Regions from separate parts of the Homo sapiens genome. Here all the other regions are linked to region 1. The links are contacts of gene promoters, found by promoter capture Hi-C in blood cells and fetal thymus (Javierre and others, 2016). All regions are on one chromosome and are shown on one strand. The core of a region is centred on a gene start or on the middle of the fragment in contact, and the rest is flanking DNA. Distances in the headings are between cores, read along the strand shown.

What was found. The method cuts DNA at HindIII sites, captures the fragments that hold promoters and counts their contacts. A CHiCAGO score of 5 or more calls a contact.
Region 2: a contact is called between a fragment that was not itself captured here and the fragment with the promoter of OR52I1 in region 1, in 10 of 17 cell types (M1 macrophages, M0 macrophages, monocytes and 7 more). The highest score is 8.4, in M1 macrophages.
Region 3: a fragment that was not itself captured here is called in contact with the fragment with the promoter of OR52I1 in region 1 in 2 of 17 cell types (M1 macrophages and M2 macrophages); the score reaches 8.9 in M1 macrophages.
Region 4: a fragment that was not itself captured here is called in contact with the fragment with the promoter of OR52I1 in region 1 in 6 of 17 cell types (M1 macrophages, M2 macrophages, M0 macrophages and 3 more); the score reaches 7.7 in M1 macrophages.
Region 5: a contact is called between a fragment that was not itself captured here and the fragment with the promoter of OR52I1 in region 1, in 14 of 17 cell types (M1 macrophages, M2 macrophages, megakaryocytes and 11 more). The highest score is 15.1, in M1 macrophages.
Region 6: a contact is called between a fragment that was not itself captured here and the fragment with the promoter of OR52I1 in region 1, in 2 of 17 cell types (megakaryocytes and erythroblasts). The highest score is 6.5, in megakaryocytes.
Region 7: a fragment that was not itself captured here is called in contact with the fragment with the promoter of OR52I1 in region 1 in 2 of 17 cell types (M0 macrophages and M1 macrophages); the score reaches 5.4 in M0 macrophages.

Annotation. Positions count from the first base shown.
Region 1 is chr11:4,592,723-4,595,428 of GRCh38, reverse strand. OR52I1 (olfactory receptor family 52 subfamily I member 1) reads right to left here and starts at 1,390. Exons shown (of 1, transcript NM_001005169.1): 1 at 416-1,390. The coding sequence starts at 1,390. The coding sequence ends at 416. OR52I2 (olfactory receptor family 52 subfamily I member 2) reads right to left here. Exons shown (of 2, transcript NM_001405760.1): 2 at 2,089-2,706. The HindIII fragment of the contact is 4,139 bases long and covers 1-2,268 here.
Region 2 is chr11:4,212,703-4,215,402 of GRCh38, reverse strand. No RefSeq gene overlaps it. Among named protein-coding and RNA genes, the nearest start is that of SSU72L5, 19 kb to the left of the region's middle. The HindIII fragment of the contact is 2,918 bases long and covers 1-2,700 here.
Region 3 is chr11:4,133,414-4,136,113 of GRCh38, reverse strand. It overlaps RRM1 (ribonucleotide reductase catalytic subunit M1), which reads right to left. Exons shown (of 19, transcript NM_001033.5): 17 at 2,456-2,551; 18 at 844-1,032. Among named protein-coding and RNA genes, the nearest start is that of RRM1, 40 kb to the right of the region's middle. The HindIII fragment of the contact is 635 bases long and covers 1,112-1,746 here.
Region 4 is chr11:4,195,570-4,198,286 of GRCh38, reverse strand. All of the region lies in intron 1 of LINC02749 (long intergenic non-protein coding RNA 2749), which reads right to left. Among named protein-coding and RNA genes, the nearest start is that of LINC02749, 9.8 kb to the right of the region's middle. The HindIII fragment of the contact is 3,403 bases long and covers 1-2,717 here.
Region 5 is chr11:4,176,614-4,179,338 of GRCh38, reverse strand. No RefSeq gene overlaps it. Among named protein-coding and RNA genes, the nearest start is that of LINC02749, 9.2 kb to the left of the region's middle. RefSeq lists enhancers at 1-71, 72-599. The HindIII fragment of the contact is 842 bases long and covers 967-1,808 here.
Region 6 is chr11:4,995,835-4,998,534 of GRCh38, reverse strand. It overlaps OR51L1 (olfactory receptor family 51 subfamily L member 1), which reads right to left. Exons shown (of 3, transcript NM_001004755.2): 2 at 952-1,053. Among named protein-coding and RNA genes, the nearest start is that of OR51L1, 2.3 kb to the right of the region's middle. The HindIII fragment of the contact is 269 bases long and covers 1,191-1,459 here.
Region 7 is chr11:4,150,082-4,152,781 of GRCh38, reverse strand. No RefSeq gene overlaps it. Among named protein-coding and RNA genes, the nearest start is that of LINC02749, 36 kb to the left of the region's middle. The HindIII fragment of the contact is 5,252 bases long and covers 1-2,700 here.

The DNA.
Region 1 (2,706 bases), core at 141-2,640:
AGGGTCATATATTAATAGCTTCTTCCATGTAATCACTTGGAGGAAAGAACAGTTCTGAGAATATCAGTCAGGTTAAGGGGAAGATACCAAACAGTTGGTCTCTTCAGCAGAGGGGATGGTAGGATATTAGGTAGGAAATATAGGTCAGAAGCTATAGAAGGAAAAATTACAGAGCTGTATTCTATACCAAACTTACTCTGATTCAGACACTATCATATTAACCCATTAAAAATGTCAGAAAATTAGAAACATTTCATTCATATTATTGGTAGAAATTTAAAAGTTACACAAAGATATCCTTTATAGCTTCATCTCAGATTTCCTTATAGTACCAGGTAAACCAATCCAGCTCCACAGATCTCTGAGGCATCTTTGAAGTTGGCTAGAATGCTCTGGATCTGAACAGATATTGTGTTCATGAACCCAGGTTGGAGTGGTCAAAGAGGAAGTGCATCAGATAACTCCATATTCCCTCCAGCAATTGTTTGGTCCTCATGCCATAGATGATGGGATTTAAAGTGGCTGGGATGATCACGTACAGGTCAGCTAGCAGCACTTGGGTGTGCAAGGGCACTATATCCTGCCCCAACCAGGCCGCATAGATGGATGCCATCCCAGGTAGATAGTACAAAGCCATAACCCCCACATGGGAGCCACATGTGCTTAATGCTTTCAACTGAGCAGTCTTTGAGGAGAGATCAAATACTGCCCTGAGAATTAAGATATAGGAGGCAGCAATGAAGGCCACATCAGAGCCCACCATAAGAGAGGAACCAATCAGACTGTAGAGACTGCTGGGCACGGGGTCAGCACATGCTAACCTGGCCAAAGCTATGTGCTTACAGTAGGAGTGGACAACCACATTGGAGCCACAGAAAGGTAGATGATTCATCATCCAACTCAGTGGAGTCATGAATGTGACAGCTCTGATGGTGACGGCCATACTCATTCCCAGCATCACTTGAGGCGTGAGAATTCTCTTGTAGTGTAGAGGCTTGCAGATGGCTACATAGCGGTCAAAAGCCATGGTCAGCAGCAGCCCCGTCTCCACAGCTGTGGCTAAGTGGACAAAAAACATCTGAGTGAAACAAGCACTAAAGCTGATGGAGCTGTCTCCCGAGCAGAAGATGCTCACCATCTTGGGTACCACGGAGGAGGCCATAACAATGTCCACAGCAGCCAGAACACACAGAAAGCAATACATGGGCTCATGCCGAGTGGAATCCATCCAGATTGCAGTCACGATGAGGGTGTTTCCTAACAGGGCTGTGATGTACATGGCACTCAGTGAGATAGCCAGCCAAAGATGTGAAGATTGCAGTCCTGGGATACCCACAAGGAGGAAGGAGGCAGGGGTTTCCATTGTGTGGTTGTAAGCTGGACCCAGCATCACAGGTGAGACTTCTTGCCTATTAATGTATAGATGATGTAAGAGAATGGTGCAGTCCTATAAGATTAGTTCCTCTTTGTGGTGCTGGGAAAACCTAGGGATATTCTCAGCTTGGTGGTATGGCAGGATCAGAAAAATGACTTCTAATACTGTGCTACTTTTCATCCTCCTTACAAGTTTCTATTCATTGTTGAAGGATCAGCTCGTGAATTCCTTCCTTAGGGACTTGTGTTCTGCTCTCTTCCTCACCCAACCCCATGCCCAGGTTAAGTTAATTACCTCTTTTGCAGTTTCCTGAAATCTCCTGTAGGGACTAAATCGACAATTCCAGTACTGTATGAGTTTATGGTATTCACTCAAGTGCCTTATAGGAAGATTGTGATCCATAGCTGTGGTCACAAGTCACTTGAGTGAAGATATATATACTCATTACAGTAAACAATTTCCACAGAAAGAACGATTAACAGAGGAAAGAATGACTTATCTCTGTGTGCTGTTACTAAATGTTGAAACCAGAACTTCTTGAAAACAAACATCACATTTTATATGCTCAGCATATTGCATAGACAAAACATAAATTCAGCATTCTTGTGATTCATGAAGTACGTTAGTAAGTTCAGTAAAATAAAACCATTAGAGAATAACATTATCACATTTTACAGGTGATTATAAATTATCTATAAATAAATATAATCCTTACCTTCTCTAAATTTACCCTGGATCCTATTCACTTTGGTTCAGTTAATAGATTAAATTACTACAAGGAAAATCTTAGGGTTACCTTATAGATGACCCCCCCTCCCCAATAAGTTGTTATGGTTCTTTAATACAACTAACTCCCTCTTCCTGATAACCAAGATGTTCCAAACAAGAAAGCTTTATCCTTTAGAAAGTTAAGCACTTTATTATTAACACAGTATGTGCCAGTACTATGTTAAAAGTGTAGTATTCATAATCTGAGTGTATTTCTCCATTTGTAATATAAGACAAACATCCATTCCATACAACACAGTTTGTATAACTTAGATTAAATATTCTAGCCAAGATCATGTAGTACGTGTGTGGTAAGTTTTGGGTTTAAGCTATGACTCCCAGGTGTCCATCCAGCCCAACATAAATAGTCAACAAGACAACTATGGATAAAACAAGGTTAGGGGTTTCACTTGGCCACGTTTGATGAGACAAAGATAGCTACTGCTGTGCACAGCCAGCAGCTGAGCTCTACCACTTGTTCATCTCTGTTTATTGATGTATTCACCCTCCATTGCCTCATTCAGGTGTTACCATATCATATAATATGTAACAATCTAAGTGGG
Region 2 (2,700 bases), core at 131-2,630, 380 kb after region 1:
ACCCAGGTGGGGTCAGGAAAATGGCAGAGGGCATGGAGAGAAGGAAGTCACACAGCTGATTCCAGAAGCCCTTTCTCTGACTAGAGAGAGGGTGACTTCTCTACTAAATCATTCTGCTGTTTCTTCTGTTCCCTCTAGACTCTAGTGCCTATGGCCAACCTTGGAAAGGCATGGCCAAAGCACCTGTGTGAGCCACTGCTACAGAATCTGGAGGAGCTGACATAGAGAAGAAACTCAGGTTCCTCCTGAAGGACCCATCCATGGAGAGGTCCTCCCAGATACCCTGGGGCGAGGTGATGAAGACCTGGGACAAGGCCCTCAGCCACAGGAAGAAGATGACCATGAAGAGCTTGGGGAAGCAAATGCAGAGAAAGGCCTGTGTGTGTGGTAAGTGTGGGAAGGATTTGTGTTTGCGGCAACCACCCTCTGCTGTTCTCCCTTTGCATCCTGCCTTCTTTCAGTTCTAGTTTTCCCTTTAGATCCTTTTTTTCCTTTCACCTCCTCATCACCCACCCCTTCACTTCCCTCCACTGTTTGCCCACCATCCCTTTTCCTCCTGTTCCTCATTAGCCTGTGTGTGTGTGTGTGTGTGTGTGTGTGTGTGTGTGTGTGTGTGTCCTTGATTACCTCCACCTGTTCTTTCCACTTGCCATTTCAAAGGTGAAATGTCCTGCTCTCACTCAGAGATAATGTAGCTCCTCACTAGGTGGAAAGCCAGCATATTTTCACATGTTCAGTGACCTTGCCTGGAAGGAAGTAAAAGTCAGTTGACCCCAAAAAGCCCATCGCCACCACCACCACCTCAAGACCAGAGTTCAGGGGCCATGTTCTGGGTCAGTGACCTACTGGTATCACCAGAGTGAAGCTGAAAGGGGCCAAGAAGATGTATAAGCAATTCCAGGAAGGTCTGTAATAAGACTTTGAGGAGAGCCAGAAAGAACTTTCCCCTCCTTGGCCAGAAGCAATGCACGCCACAGAGTTCTGAGGGAAAGGGCCCTAGCGCTGCTTTCCTGGGGAGTGAGGCGCACACTCCACACCCACCTGAGTCCCCTGTCCACTGTTTCCTGGATCCGGTTTTAGTCTGTTGTGCAGCTTCCCTAATAAGGGGTAAGTGTTTCTTTGGCTGGCTGAAAGAGGCCTGCTCCTTTCCTGGTGCTATGAATCCAGGTGGGACTGCAGTGGCTCTTCTATGGCCATTGACTGTGTGAGCCCCACGGTAAGGCGGGGAGGAGGCAGGACAGGATGCAGGCATCCAAAGACACCACTGTGAGCTCTCTGAGGGGTCAGAAGACACAGAGAGCCATCCCTTATCACTTAGGAAATTCTGAGTTATTGACAATAAATGTGGCAGGGTACAGGAGGAGAGAGCTCTTGTAATTAAGTGATTGCTTCAAATATATCACCGCCCTCTAGAGATGGGAAATACCTAGACCAAGAATTCTTTCAGAGCCATATCTCAGATACGACAGGACTTCCTGTCGTAAGATAATAAACAGTACCATACTTTAAAAGCCAGTATTTCTAGTATCATAGTATTACTGTGTTTCTCTCTGTTTATCCCTGAGCCCCAGGGAGGTCTTGTTAGAGTGTACCAGCACTGTGACAGCTGGCAGATGGGGCACTGAGAGCCGGAGGAGGTGAGGACCGGTCACTCCACAGGCCTCCCCGACGTCTGCAGCGCTTGTAGGGACATCTAAGGGGCCAGTGTGACTTAAATACACTGCATAAGTTTGAAATGCATGTAGTTTTAGCTTTTGTTAAAATGGTTTTCCTTTATAGTCAGTTTTGAGGGTTTTTTAAATGTTATAAACATCTTTTTCATTGTTACTACTTTTTTTCCGTTTTCGTCCATCCTAGAAAAAAAAAATGTTGCCCTCAAAATTATCTTGTCTTTCTGCAATTGCCTTTGAGAAGGCTCATCTTCTCCAGACACATTATCATCTGAAATCAGTAGACAATCTTGTATTCTGTGACTGAACCCAAGTTTATTTCATCCAAACAACTTCAAACACCCAAGCAACAATATATACCTAGTATATTTTAGGACATCAGTAATGTCCTTTAAAAAGTGAACCTTTTTTTAAGCTACATTTTCTCATGTGTGTTCATTGAGGTTCTTACAGAAAGCTGCACTGCACGGTTGTCGGCCCTTTTTAAAGTCAACAGTTGACTCAGAAATAAAATATACTTAAAAATCTTATTATTTCTTATATTTTAAGTTCAGTTTTTAAAACTTTCTAAAAAATGTTACCGGTCATTTTTAAGTAGCCATTACAACCTAGTTAATAAGTCTTCATAAAAAATTCAAAGTGTTTATAAATAATTACAGTTTTGATTTCCTTAAATATAGAGATTGATTTTCATTTTAAAAATGTTTTAATAAGTTTCTAACTAGTTCTTATAATCTAATAAAATAAATTTAGAATTATAGTGGATGTGAGGTTCTCATACATGTTGTTAACATAACTTGCTGAAATATTATTACACATTTCAATTTAAAATTACTTCTTGGTAATTATTTATATGCACATTTAAAAGTTGACGTCAGGCATGGTGGCTCACTCCTATAATCCTAGCACGTTGGAAGGCCGAGGCAAGATCACTTGAGCCCAGGAGTTCTTGATTAGGCTGGGCAACAGTGAGACCCCCAACTCTATTTTTAAAAATACATAAATAAAAGTTGAAATCTGTTAAGCACTA
Region 3 (2,700 bases), core at 180-2,679, 460 kb after region 1:
TCCTGTTCTTTTCACTCCTAAAACAGGCTTATCTCTTTGGAAAGGTCAAACATTTTTATTCTTTTGTCTTTGTTTTTATGCATATGACTTCCAGGTTTGCCCAAGACAATATGTCTGCCTTAGGTTATAACTGTTTAGAGAGCTAGACTGTGTCTCTGTGTAACAACAGACTATAAGACTTCAAAGATAAAGATCATCATCTTCTATTCAGTATCCTCAGTCCTGGCACATACTAGATGTTCAATAAATGTTAAATTAAAAAACAAATTTATAATTCTACTTAAATACCCAATACATTATCAGGGAATAAGAACATAATCCAAAATCACCAGACTTTACAGCTGGCAACGACTAGCTAAGTAAGCTGGCTTTCACTTTATAAAGTGAGAAAACAATGGATGTTTTTGAATAGCGGGTTGACGTGTGCAAAGTTTTATCTGAGGAATGGTGGTAATGCACACAAAATGGCTGGGAGCAGAGATCCTAGAAGCAATAAGGTCAGTTTAGAATAACAGCAGCAGAAAAGGAAGGAAGATATTTAAGAAATAATACAAAGGAACAATCAACACAACTTGGTAATTGTACGGACAGTAAAGGAAGGAAAGCATCACAGGTAACTACAAGGTTTCAAACCTAAGAAGGAAATAAACCTAACAGAAACAAGAAAATCCAAGGCAAGACCCTGTTCTGGTACAAAAACCATGGGTTGGTTTTAACGTTCTGGATTTGAACTTAAAGAACTTCTAGGTGATAATATTTAATAGGTGGCTAAAACATAAAATCATTCCAATGCCAAAATATCTCAAGCTGGCAATTAAGTACTCCTTGATATTCTCTACCAACCTGCTTCCAGCCGTAGAAGTGCATACTAGTGAGTTTGCCATAGTTAGGCTCAGCAATGTGGATGTTCAAAGATTGGCTTTGATCAATGAAAGCACCTCTCTCAGCTGCCATCTTGAGAACAGTTTTCTGAGAGATTTCCCACACAGTTTTATAAAGTTGCTTCAGGTCATCAGGAATTTCTGGTATGCTCTAAAGAAGGAAAACCCAATGTTTACTTTACTCCAGTTAAAGAAAGCAGTGTATGATTAATAGAATAGTGACACAAGCTTTGATCTTCATTTTACTTCCTGCCAGATCTGACCTTACCATTCAGTATCATATGATATGATCCTTATCAAGTTTACCAAGACTATTTAGAAAGTTGAACAAAACCCCCATCTAACCAACCAAATATCAATCTGGTGATAGTAATTTCAGCATCCCTTTTTTGTTGGTCATAAACCAATTTTTTAATTTTTTAATTGATTTATGACCCAAACATTCATTCTTCTAGAGGCACTTAAAGAAAGGAAAAGTCAGAGCTAAGCAGCAATAAATGACCCTTGAGTTTTGCAGAAAACACAAAAAATAAGGGCTGTAATTCACAGGGACCAAGGGAAGCAATGAGATAAAACCCTTTAAATAAGCTAGGATTTCAAACTCCCTTTGGAATCCAAAATCAGGTTTTCTTAGGCCTAGGGTTAACTTTCATTAAAACACACAGACTGGCTAATGCTACAGTTTCTGTCATTAAATATGGAACTGTTATAGGACTCTTCATCTGTGTTGCTAAGCAGACCAACATTTAGCCAGACACCTCTATCTGCAAATAAATGCCTCTTGACTCTTAGTTGCAAATATTTACACGATTTGTGACTCTGTCTTTTGGACTATCAGTCGTCAACCATGATTTTTAATTAAGCTTGACTCTCTTAATTTCAGTCTTTCTATCTATGATCCCCCAAATTTTGATATACTTTGGAATCACCAAAAGAATCTTTAAAAATTATTGATGTCTGAGGCCAGGCACGGTGGCTCATGCATGTAATCCTAGCACCCTGGGAGGCCAAGGCAGGCGGATCACCTGAGGTCAGGAGCCTGGCCAATATGGTGAAACCCTGTCTCTACTAAAAATACAAAAAACAGCCGGGCGTGGTGGCAGGCACCTGTAATCCCAGCTACTTGGGAGGCTGAGGCAGGAGAATCGCTTGAACCTAGGAGGCAGAGGTTGCAGTGAGCCATGATTCCACCACTGCACTCCAGCCTGGGCGACAGAGACTTCGTCTCAAAAAAAAAAAAAAAAAAAAAAAATTGATGTCTGGTTCCTGTTCCTAGACATTTAATTGGTAAGGAATGCAACCTAAGCTTCAGGATTTTAAAAGCTCCCCAGTTGATTCTAAGATGCAGAAAAATTGAGAACTACTTTTTTATATTATTGCATAAAAACAAGATGGTAAGGGTTATGTAAAGATGTGTACAATCCTAGCACAACAATGCAGAGGTGAACAGAGCTACACAAGCAAAACCTAGATGAACACAATGAAGTCATTCTCTCCATTGTCTAGCATGAGTGAGGAGGTACCACAATGTCCAACTCAGCCCCTGCAGAGCACACTTCATTTTCATTCTATACCTGAATAGAGCCATTGCATGCAATAATCTGGTTTTTCATCTCTTCATGCCATAGGCCCCGCTCGGTAAGATCTTTCAATAAGTGAGGATTTACAATCTGAATGGAAAAGCAGAAAATGTATGAAGAAATAAATAACAGTGACTGCTTAGAAAAGACTACAGCTTTGAAGCTTAAACTAAAATCACTTAAGAGTTATTTAATGCTAGATTGCTTGGTAAATTCTATCTTTTATAAAGACGAGACAT
Region 4 (2,717 bases), core at 107-2,606, 400 kb after region 1:
TTATTATACAAAAATAAAATTATTTTATTATACAAAAATAAAATTATTTTATTCAAAAAAAAAAAGAAAAAAGAAAAGTCCTGGCCGGGTGCTGTGGCTCACGCCTGTAATCCCAGCACATTGGGAGGCCAAGGTAGGCAGATCACCTGAAGTCAGGAGTTTAAGACCAGCCTGGCCAACGTGGTGAAACCCCGTCTCTACTAAAAATTCAAAAATTAGCCGGGCGTGGTGGCGGGCACCTGTAATCCCAGCTACTCAGAAGACTGAGGCAGGAGAATCGCTTGAACCTGGGAGGGGGAGGTTGCAGTGAGCCGAGCCTGTACCACTACCCTCTAGCCTGGGCAACAGAGCAAGACTCTGTCGCAGAAAAAAAAAAAAAAATCCCAAAATAAATTAAACACTGAGAGAAAAGATCGGTAATATATAACACAGATACATATGTAATATCGCTAATATATAAATAACTTTTTCTACTCGATAGAAGTTTCAAAAACCTGATATAAAAATGGTCAAATAGTCAAAGACATAAACAGACCATTGACTGAAAAAAGAATTAAAATGTCCCGTAAACATGTGAAAAAACATTCAGCCTCAACTATAATAAGAGAAATGCAAATTAAAATAACACTGAGATATTATCTCTCACCTAGCAGATTGGCAAAAATGTAAACATACACTAACACGTTCTGTTGGCAAGGCTTGAAGAAAGTAGATGCTCAAGCATTTCTGATGGGAATGGAAATTAGTACAACCTTAATGGGGGAGAATTTGATGATATCAAACAAAATGGCACATGCTTTTCCCCCTTTTTATAATTTATCCTGGTAATACATATTCAAATATATACAAAAATACATATGTTTAAGGATTTTCATTGTAGCATTGTTTATAATTGAAAAATATTAGAAACAACCAAAATGACTTTACATAGGAAAATGGTTGAATGAACTATGGTACATCATCGAATGGAATAGTCTGCAGCTATAAAAATGAATGAGGATGACATCTATAAACTGATATAGAATGGCTCCCAAGATATGCTGTTAAATTTAAAAAGCAAAGTGTGAGAAAGTGTTTATGGTATGCCACGTTTTGTGCAAGAAAGAAAGGGGAATAAGAAAATATATATTTGTCTGCACAACTATACAAAAAGAAACTTAGGAAAGGAAACCCAGAAACTAATGAGATTGGTTCCATACAGGAGTGGGTGGAAATGGAGTGACTAAAGTTGCAGATAGCAAAATAAGTCACTTTTGTCAGACCCGAGCAAACTGGAGCCAGAACACACAAAGGAGCACAGCTCATGCTTGCACATCTGAGATAAGGACTATTTCAAGGACTTTCTAAAATAACTCCACGAGAAATTCCTTCATCTTTTATACATCTCATGCTTTTCATGATCTACATTTTACATGCATTTTACATTTTACATGCATGCACATATTTCTATGACCAGGTTTATCACTATACATTCTTTAGGACTGTAGCAATTCTGATAAGATGCTAGGCCGATGCCTAGCAGTGGCATCTCCACCAATGAACTGATGCTAATTCTAGCTTTGAGCCTCCAGAACCAATGAACTCTGTCTCCAAGCAGCTTACATAGCTTCTCCTTGCCAGTAAAAATTTCCCTTTACCTTTGGCTTGATGTACCTGTACCTATGGCTTGCTACAGCTGTGCTTCCCAGATTATAATCCTTTTGCTTACTCCCGAATAAACTCAACATATTAGGATATATTTTTCTCTGATGTCTTTTTTTAGCCTGATGGGTGAAAAGAATAAGATGGTGGGAGCAAGGTAGAGAAGATGGAGGGCAGTGACACTTCTCTGAGTTCATGTTTTTGTACAGATCTGTTCTGACTTTTACAACCATGTTAATGTTTCATGTACTCAGTTTTTCAGTAAATACAATCAACAAGGATAAAAGGAGGAAACATTAGCATTGAATACATATGGAAGCAAGTGTACCGAACTGTAGGTTAAGTGAATGACAAAACACAGTACGGGTAGGGGGTGATAACAGAAGTTTTGAAGCAGTACTTTGCCTCTGTATTCTCAGGCTAGGGCAAAAAGACAGTAGCAAATATTGAACTCTGTTTAATAGATTTGTTTCCCACACCAGCATGAGTTAACAATTCTGAAACTACATTCTGTGTATTCTAGGATTAAGCAAATAAGTAAATATACTGTGGGTAACTGAAACCAGGTTTTTCACGGTTGGAGAAGGAAATTACATATATGGAAAGAGAGAAGGTTAAAATGAACTCTAGAGTGTTGGATTGGAACTGGTCATATCAGTATGAACTCATGGTTTTTAAGAAAGATAGGTAGGTAAGTAGGTAGGTAGATAGATGAATGGATTTGCATGTGTGTGTGTGCATATTTACATAATATATATACTACACACACATGTGTGTATATGTATGACAGGGCCTAAAAATAACAACACTCTGGCAATGAACAGACCTATTCCAGGTCTTGGTTTGTTTTTATACACAATTCTCTGCTAAAAGGAATCAGGGTTTCTTAGAAAAATACCAGATTACAGAGTTTGAGCCGGGAAAGTACAAGATGAGCCTGGAATATCTTGTAGTAACAGAAAGTAAGGAAGTGCTCAAAAAGTAATAGCAGTGTGTCAAAAAGACACAAGAATCAACTTGGAGGAGCTCTCACAGGACTAATCTGGGATAATTTTGATCATCAAAATCACCAATGC
Region 5 (2,725 bases), core at 138-2,637, 420 kb after region 1:
AAGTGCATGCTCCCCAGCTCCCTGCCTACTGCTGCCAAAGCACAAGCAAAGTGCATGCTCCCCAGCTCCCTGCCTACTGCTGCCAAAGCACAAGCAAAGTGCATGCTCCCCAGCTCCCTGCCTACTGCTGCTGCCACTGAAAGCAACCCTGTGCTCCCCAGTAGCAGGGTGGCAGTGACACCTCCACCCCAACATACCACCAGGAGCCTAGGGATCACCTGCCTCTGCCTAACACAGCCAGTGCCTACACACACTACTAAGGGGCCTAAGGAGCCAGGCCTGGCTCCACTCCTCCTTCCCAGTGCCTAAGCATGTCATCTTTGGGTATGGGAATCACCCAACCCAGTTCATCACCTTTGGCACCCAAACACTTTCCCAGGGCCTGAGATCAGGCCCACCCAACCTGCCTCTACCACCACAGCTGACACCCACACATACGTACGCACTATGTGCCTAGGGACTGGCCTCCCAAGCCCAATGCAGCCACCAGAAATTATTTAATAAAATCATGTATCAATAATAACCTTGAATACAAACAGATTAAACTTTCCAAATAAAAGACAAAGACTGGCTAAATGAATTAAAAAACATGACCCAACTATATGCTTCCTAAAAGAAACTCACCTTATGTATAAAGACACATATAGATTTAAACTAAAGGGATGAAAAAAGTCCATGCAAATGAAAACCAAAGGCAAGCAGGAATAGCTGTACATATAAGAGATAAGACAGACTTTAAGTCAAAAACAATAAAAAGAGATAAAGACAATCATTATATAATGATAAAGGGATCAATTTGGCAAAAGAATATAACAATTCTAAACATATATGCACCCAACATCAGAGCACCCAGATATATAAAGCAAATATTATTAGATGTAAAGAAAGAAGTAGACTCCAGTACAATAAGAGTTGTGAACTTCAACACCCCACTCTCAGCATTAAACAGATTATCTAGACCAAGCTTGTTCAACCTATGGCCTGCAGGCCACATGCAGCCCAGGATGGCTTTGAATGCAGCTCAACACAAATTCATAAACTTTCTTAAAACATAATGAGAGCTTTTGCAATTTATTTTAAGCTCATCAGCTATTCGTTAGTGTTACTGTATTTTATGTGTGGCTCAAGACAATTCTTTTTCCAATGTGCCTTAGGGAAGCCAAGAAATTGGACACCCCTGATCTAGACAGAAAATTAACAAAGAAACATTGAATTAAAACTGCACATTATACCAAATATACCTAACAAAAATTTACAGGACATTTCATCCAACAGCTACAAAACACACATTCTTCTCATCAGCATATGGAACATGCTCCAGGATAAACCATATGTTAGCACACAAAACAAGTCTCCACAAATTTTTAAATATCAAAATCATATGAAGTACCTTCTCAGACCACAATAAAATAAAACCAGAAGTTAATAACAAGAGGAATGTTGGAAACTGCACAAATATATGGAAATTAAACAACATGTCCCTGAATGGCCATTGGATCAAAAAAGAAATTTAAAAGGAAATCAAAAAATTTCTTGAAACAAATGAAAATCAAAACACAACATACCAAAATCTATGGGATACAGCAAAAGCAGTGCTAAATGGTAGTTTATAGCAATAAATGCCTACATCAAAAAAGTGGAAAGAATTCAAATAATCTAACAATGCACCTCAAGGAATGAGAAAAGCAAGAGAAAACCAAAACCAAAATTAGTGGAAGAAAAAGTCTACACTGTATGTATCAAAACATAACTTGGGATTCCATAAATATGTACTATTATTATATGCCAATTAAAAAAGAAAACAAGCTTTTAAAAATAAAATAAAATACCTAGGAATAAATTTAATCGTGAGGCAAAAAACAAGGAAAACTACAAAACACTGATGAAATAAATTAAAGAGGACACAAACAAATGGAAAGAGAGCCTATGTTCTTAAATCAAAATAATTGATGTCCTTAAGATGACTATACTGGCCGGGCACGGTGGCTCACACCTGTAATCCTAACACTTTGGGAAGCCGAGGCAGGTGGATCACCTGAGGTCAGGAGTTCAAGACCAGCCTGGCCAACATGGTGAAACCCCATCTCTATTAAAAATACAAAGTTAGCCAGGCATGGTGGCACACACCTGTAATCCCAGCTACTCAGGAGGCTGAGGAAGGAGAATCGCTTGAACCTGAGAGGTGGAGGTTGCAGTGAGCCAAGATTGTGCCACTGCACTCCAGCCTGAGCAACGGGAGTGAGACTCCATCTAAAAAAAAAAAAAAAAAAAAAAAAAAAAGATGACCACACTGCCCAAAAAAACCACAGATTCAAGGCAATCACTATCAAAATACCAATGTCAGTTTTGACAGAAATAGAAAAAACAACACTAAAACTATTCTGGAACCAAAAAGGAGCCTAAATAGCCAAAGCAATCCTGAGCAAAAACAACAAAGCCGAAAGTTTCACACTAGCTGACTTCAGAATATATCACAAAGCTATATTAACCAAAGCAGCATGCTATTGGAATAAAAACAGACACATAGAACAATAAAACAGAATAGAGAATCCAGAAATACATGCATGTGTTTACAGCCAATGATTTCCAACAAAAGTGCCAAGAATATACATTGAAGGACAGTCTCTTGAATAAACAGTGCTGGGAAAGTTGGATATCCATATGTGAAAGAATGAAACTAGACCCTATTTCTCACTATACAAAAAATCAACTCAGGATGGATTAA
Region 6 (2,700 bases), core at 76-2,575, 400 kb before region 1:
TTGATCCCATGGACTCAACATAATTTCTATTCAGCTGCATTTTTATTTAAAGATTTATAATATTTAAACATTTTAAATATTTAATATTTTAATAATACAAGATAAATACCCCTATATGAAAAGAGAGCATGAACATAAGAAACAGAATCCATAATACCAGAATCCATAATCCCAGCATGCTTTATTGAGCTGCTATTTAACCAACACAGTTTTGAGCTGTTTAGTATAGCAACTATTCCTGACCTAAAAAAAAATTCACGGTAAAAAAACTATATATATAGTGTGTGAGTGTATATGCGTGTGTGTGTGTGTGTGTGTGTGTGTGTGTGTGTGTGTGTGTTTGTGAAATAAGAGTTTAAATAGTTTGAAAATAAATCTTTAGGCCATAACATCACAATATAACTACGAAAGTCCATTAAAGACATTTCCCTTTCTGCTCTTCCACAAAATGAGAACAATGCATTTAACAGTTATCTATTACATGTTTTCAGTAAAAGAGGTACTTTTCCACTTTATTTCTATTGATTTTTTTGATTGATTGATTTCTGTTTCCAAACGATGCTTTTAATATCATTTTTAAAAGATCATCAATCAAAATATTAAGTGGTTCTTAATTTTCTGACCCACTTGCACCTACTTCTGTGAACTCATGACAATCCAGAATTTAGGCCTTAAATATTCACTATCAGTGCCTCTTAGAAACAACCAAGCTCTTCTGAGTGTTTCAAAATATGATATTAACATCTGGCTTTACTTTCCCTCAGCAATTGTTATTGTAATAGCCTCCTTGCCTGTGCTGAACCAGTGTTGCCCTTGCTGTATCATACTGTGTTGATGGCACTTGGTACAGCAGCTGAGCATTATGAGATTATCTGCCCCTTCTGTTACCTAGGTCTTTATTTTAACCCTGTCTAGTTCCATTAACTGCCCCTGAGAAAATTATTTACTTACCTTGTCCCTTAGAGTCTGGGCCTCATAGACTTCAGCAACATCTCTCTGTAGCAACATCTCAGTAATTCCCTCAACCCTCCTTCTGGACCCTTAGTCTCTGACCTTTTGAAAGATTAAGATAAGACTTAGCCTCATCCTAGAGTAAAAATATTTCCAAATGTGGTCTCAAACTCGTATCACAAGGCTCCAGCTAGCTAGCTGTTTCTTTTTATTATCTCCATTATATTTAATAAAAAGCTTTATTTTAAAAATCCCTTGACTGATTCTTATCTCACTTTCATACCGTGAAGACTGAAAGTTCTTAGATGGCACAACTTAGAATTCCAAAGAGGACTTGATTTAGAATCTGTATCTGAGGAACAAAAGAAAGCACAAAGCCCTCTTCTCCATGTAATGAGAAGGATTTGTCTCTTTTTCTACTTTTACCCAAGTACAGGAATCCTCCATCTTCTATGAGTCAGAACCTAACCTGGTACTCTTCTCTAGCCTAGGCAATGTGAATGAAGCTTTCATTTGAGACCCTCGTCTTAAATAAAGCAGTCAGCTACCCATCAAATTCTTCACACCCAGCAGAGTATGTGTTTAGAGCATTTATTTTTCTTCACCCCTAAGCAACATTTTTCTCTCCAGTCTTCCATATCACTAGCTGACTTTATTTTTTCTTTCTCCTCACTCAGAAAAATTTTTTGACCTCCTGTTGTACAGTTGAGCTCATAAAAATGATATAGGTATTAACATCGAAATAAAAAGAACACACACACACACAGAGTGAGAGAGAGGGAGGAGAGAAAGAAAGAAACAGAGAGAGAGAAATGAAAGAAAGAAAGAAAGAAAGAAAGAAAGAAAGAAAGAAAGAAAGAAAAGAAAAGAAAGGAAGGAAGGAAAAGAAAGAAAAAGAAAGAAAGAGAAAAAAAGAAAAAGAAAAGAAAACTGTGGCCACAGTGGAGAAGTAGTTTATTTTACCCCATGCCAGAAAAATATTCCATGTTTTCTCCTTTAATTCTTTCAGTCCTGAAATAAATCATATTTTCTTAAATTCTCACATAGAATGCAAAGAACAAAGTGGATCACTACTCTTTAGAATTCTCTTTCTCCCTGCTTTATGTGCAAGTCCCCTATGTGCAGATTGCGATGTTTAGAAAACTTCAGTTGTAGACTGGCCAATAGATTTGAGGTTAGGACAGGCAGGAATATTTCTGTTTGTAATCCCTATTAATTTTTAACTGTGTATATTTAAGGTATACAGAATGATGTTTATATATATATATGCATATACATAGACATATACATAGTGAAATGGTCATTACTATGTGCCTGTGTGTGTGTGTGTGCATGCACACACGTGCATGTGTATGCTAAGAACACCTAAGCTCTACTCTCTTGGCAAATTTTCGGTATACAATTTCTGTGGTTTTAATTCTTGCTCATATTGGTTTATCCCTCACTTAAAAAGAGTCCCCATTTCTACAATATTATTAACTCACTGCTTTATCTCATTGATTTATCCCTCACCTGAAAAGAGTTCCCATTCTACAATATTATGAACTGTGGTCATGCTGTATATTAGATCTCTAGACTTATTCTTCCTACATAACTGCAAGTTTGTATGCTTTGAGCTACTTTTCCGCATTTCCTCCACTACCCGGGCCCCCTAAGCCCCTTTCCCGTTTCTATTTCTGTGTGTACTTTCCCTTTCTTATCCTCTCACTGCCATATCTGTCATGTCTTTCACTTTTTAAAATCCATTTA
Region 7 (2,700 bases), core at 57-2,556, 440 kb after region 1:
CCTATCTTTTCTTTCTCTCCCTAGTTTATAACTGATGGCTTTTCACCTCACCAAGTCACAGGAATGGAGAATAGCTCAAGAGTAGACATGACCTCAACTGACCTGGCATTGGTCCTTCCTGGACTTGGTAGATGTTAAAAGCAGATAGTATTTTGGGATGCATTTGTTGAGTATACTGTTACATGCTGTATTTTGACCATTGATTGTCATTACTAGCCTACTCAGTAGAATGCAGACTCACTCAGGGAACACAAATGTTACTTATTGTTGTATCCATGCATCCAGCATATGGCCTAGCACAAAGTAAGTGCTCAGTAAAGATGTGAAGAAAAAAATAAAGGAATGAGTAACTGTATAAAAATGAGAAAGCAAAATGGACACAAGAGCTACGTTGTGTTGTAAAAATCTCACACTATTTGTGAAAGACTTAATAGTACTTGTAGATAGACTGTGGTAAGTTAAAGATATGTACTATAAACCCTAAAGCAACCAAGAGGAAATAAGACAACAAAGAGGAACAACTAATAAACCAACAAAGGAGAGTAAATGAAATCACAAAAAGAAGATCCAAAGAAGGTATAAAAAAAGAGAAAAAGAGGAGCTTTTTTAGTCCTATTTCCAAATTCCAGAGGACAAACTGGATGCCTCCCTGGAGGAGCCAGCCCCTGCCTCTGTGGTTCCCAGTTTTTCACAGCTGAGTACACACTGCACTCTCTGCCCTAATTTCTGAACCACCCAGAAGTAAATTCCTCACCAACCGCAGCTTGCATGCACATACACACACACACACACACAGACCCTAAATCAGATCCATGTCTTGACCACTGGGCTCTCCTATTGTCACCCCAGAGCTCTTTCCTGACTTTGGGTACCCCCTAAGTGTCCATTTAACCTTCAAATTGCAAGAGCCCCTTCCCTCAGCTTAGCCCCAGGTCATCCTAGTCAGTGATATACAGATTATGCCTGTTTATGCCCCTGGGATGGGACTTGTTCTGAAACCTCACTTGCTCTTCCTGAGCCTCTAATGGCTCATCTGTAAAAGAGGGGAAATCCCTTAGCAGAAGTGATTGCTCTGTGAAAAATGCCAAGAGCCATAGAGAAAAAAATGTTAGTACAGGGCCTGGCACAGTGGCTCACACCTGTAATCCCAGCACTTTGGGAGGCTGAGGCAGGTGGATCACTTCAGGTCAGGAGTTCAAGACCAGCCTGGCCAACATGATGAAACCCTGTCTTTACTAAAAATACAAAAATTAGCTGGGCATGGTGGCAGGCACCTGTAATCCCAGCCACTCGGGAGGCTGAGGCAGGAGAATTGCTTGAACCCAAGAGGTGGAGGTTGCAGTGAGCCGAGATCAAGATTGCACCACTGCACTCCAGCCTAGGCAACAGAGTGAGACTCTGTCTCAAAAAAAAAAAAAAAAAAAAAAAAATTTGGATACTGTCACCTCCACCCAGCCCTCTCCTGGGGTCCTCTCTGAGGGACAGATGGGTTCTTCTGGGTTTCTCCTTGTTTCCTCCTTTTGAGTGCCCTTTGGAATGACTACCCTCTGGGAATCTCCTCAGGCTTCTCCCCTGGAGCCACAGGTCTAATTTTCCATCCCTCATAAATCAGCCTCATAGTGCCTTGGAGTTGGGCACTGACCTGACCTCCAGCCTTAGCTCTTCAGAGGCGAAACCAAAGACACAGCAGGCTGCAACCCAACTGGAGACTACTGCAGGCTGCCACGGTGAGGCAACAATAAATTTATGGGGGATTTGGAGAGAGGTAAACCTGAGATTGGAGCTGAACTCCACCTTTTACCATTGACATACCTAAGTCACTAAGTCATATCCCAGCCCTATCATTTAAAGGTATACCTATGATACTTTAAGAACATTAGTTAACCTCTCTAAATCTCAGTGTCTTCAGCTATAACCTGGGTTAATAAATAGTATTATGCATGCAGCCCTCTATATCCATGGGTCTGACATCTGTAGGTTCAACCAACTGCAGATCAAAAATAGTCGAAAAGAAATTTAAAAATCAAGAATACAACAATAAAAAAATACAAAATTTAAAATACAGTATAAGAGCTGGGTGCGGTGGCTCACGCCTGTAATCCCAGCACTTTGGGAGGCCGAGGTGGGCGGATCACAAGGTCAGGAGATGGAGACCATCCTGGCTAACACAGTGAAAACCCGTCTCTACTAAAAATACAAAAAATTAGCTGGGCGTGCTGGCAGGCGCCTGTAGTCCCAGCTACTCGGGAGGCTGAGGCAGGAGAATGGCAAGAACCCAGGAGGCGGAGGTTGCAGTGAGCCGAGATTGCACCACTGCACTCCAGCCTGGGCGACAGAGTGAGACTCCGTCTCAAAAAAAAAAAAAAAATGGTATAACAACTATTTACATAGCATTTACATTGTACTAGGTGTTACAAGTAATCTGGAAACAATTTAAAGTATATGGGAGGATGTGCATAGATTATATGTAAACTCTATGTAATTTTTAAACTTTTTTAGTGACACAGATAATTGTACATATTTGTGGGGTACATGGTGATGTTTTGATACATACAATGGAGAGTGATTAGATAAGAGTAATTAGAATATCCATCATCTCAAATACATCATTTCTTTGTCCTGAGAACATTTACTATCCTAGCTATTTGAAACCATGTATTGTTAACTGTAGTCATCCTACAGTGTATAGAACACTAGAAC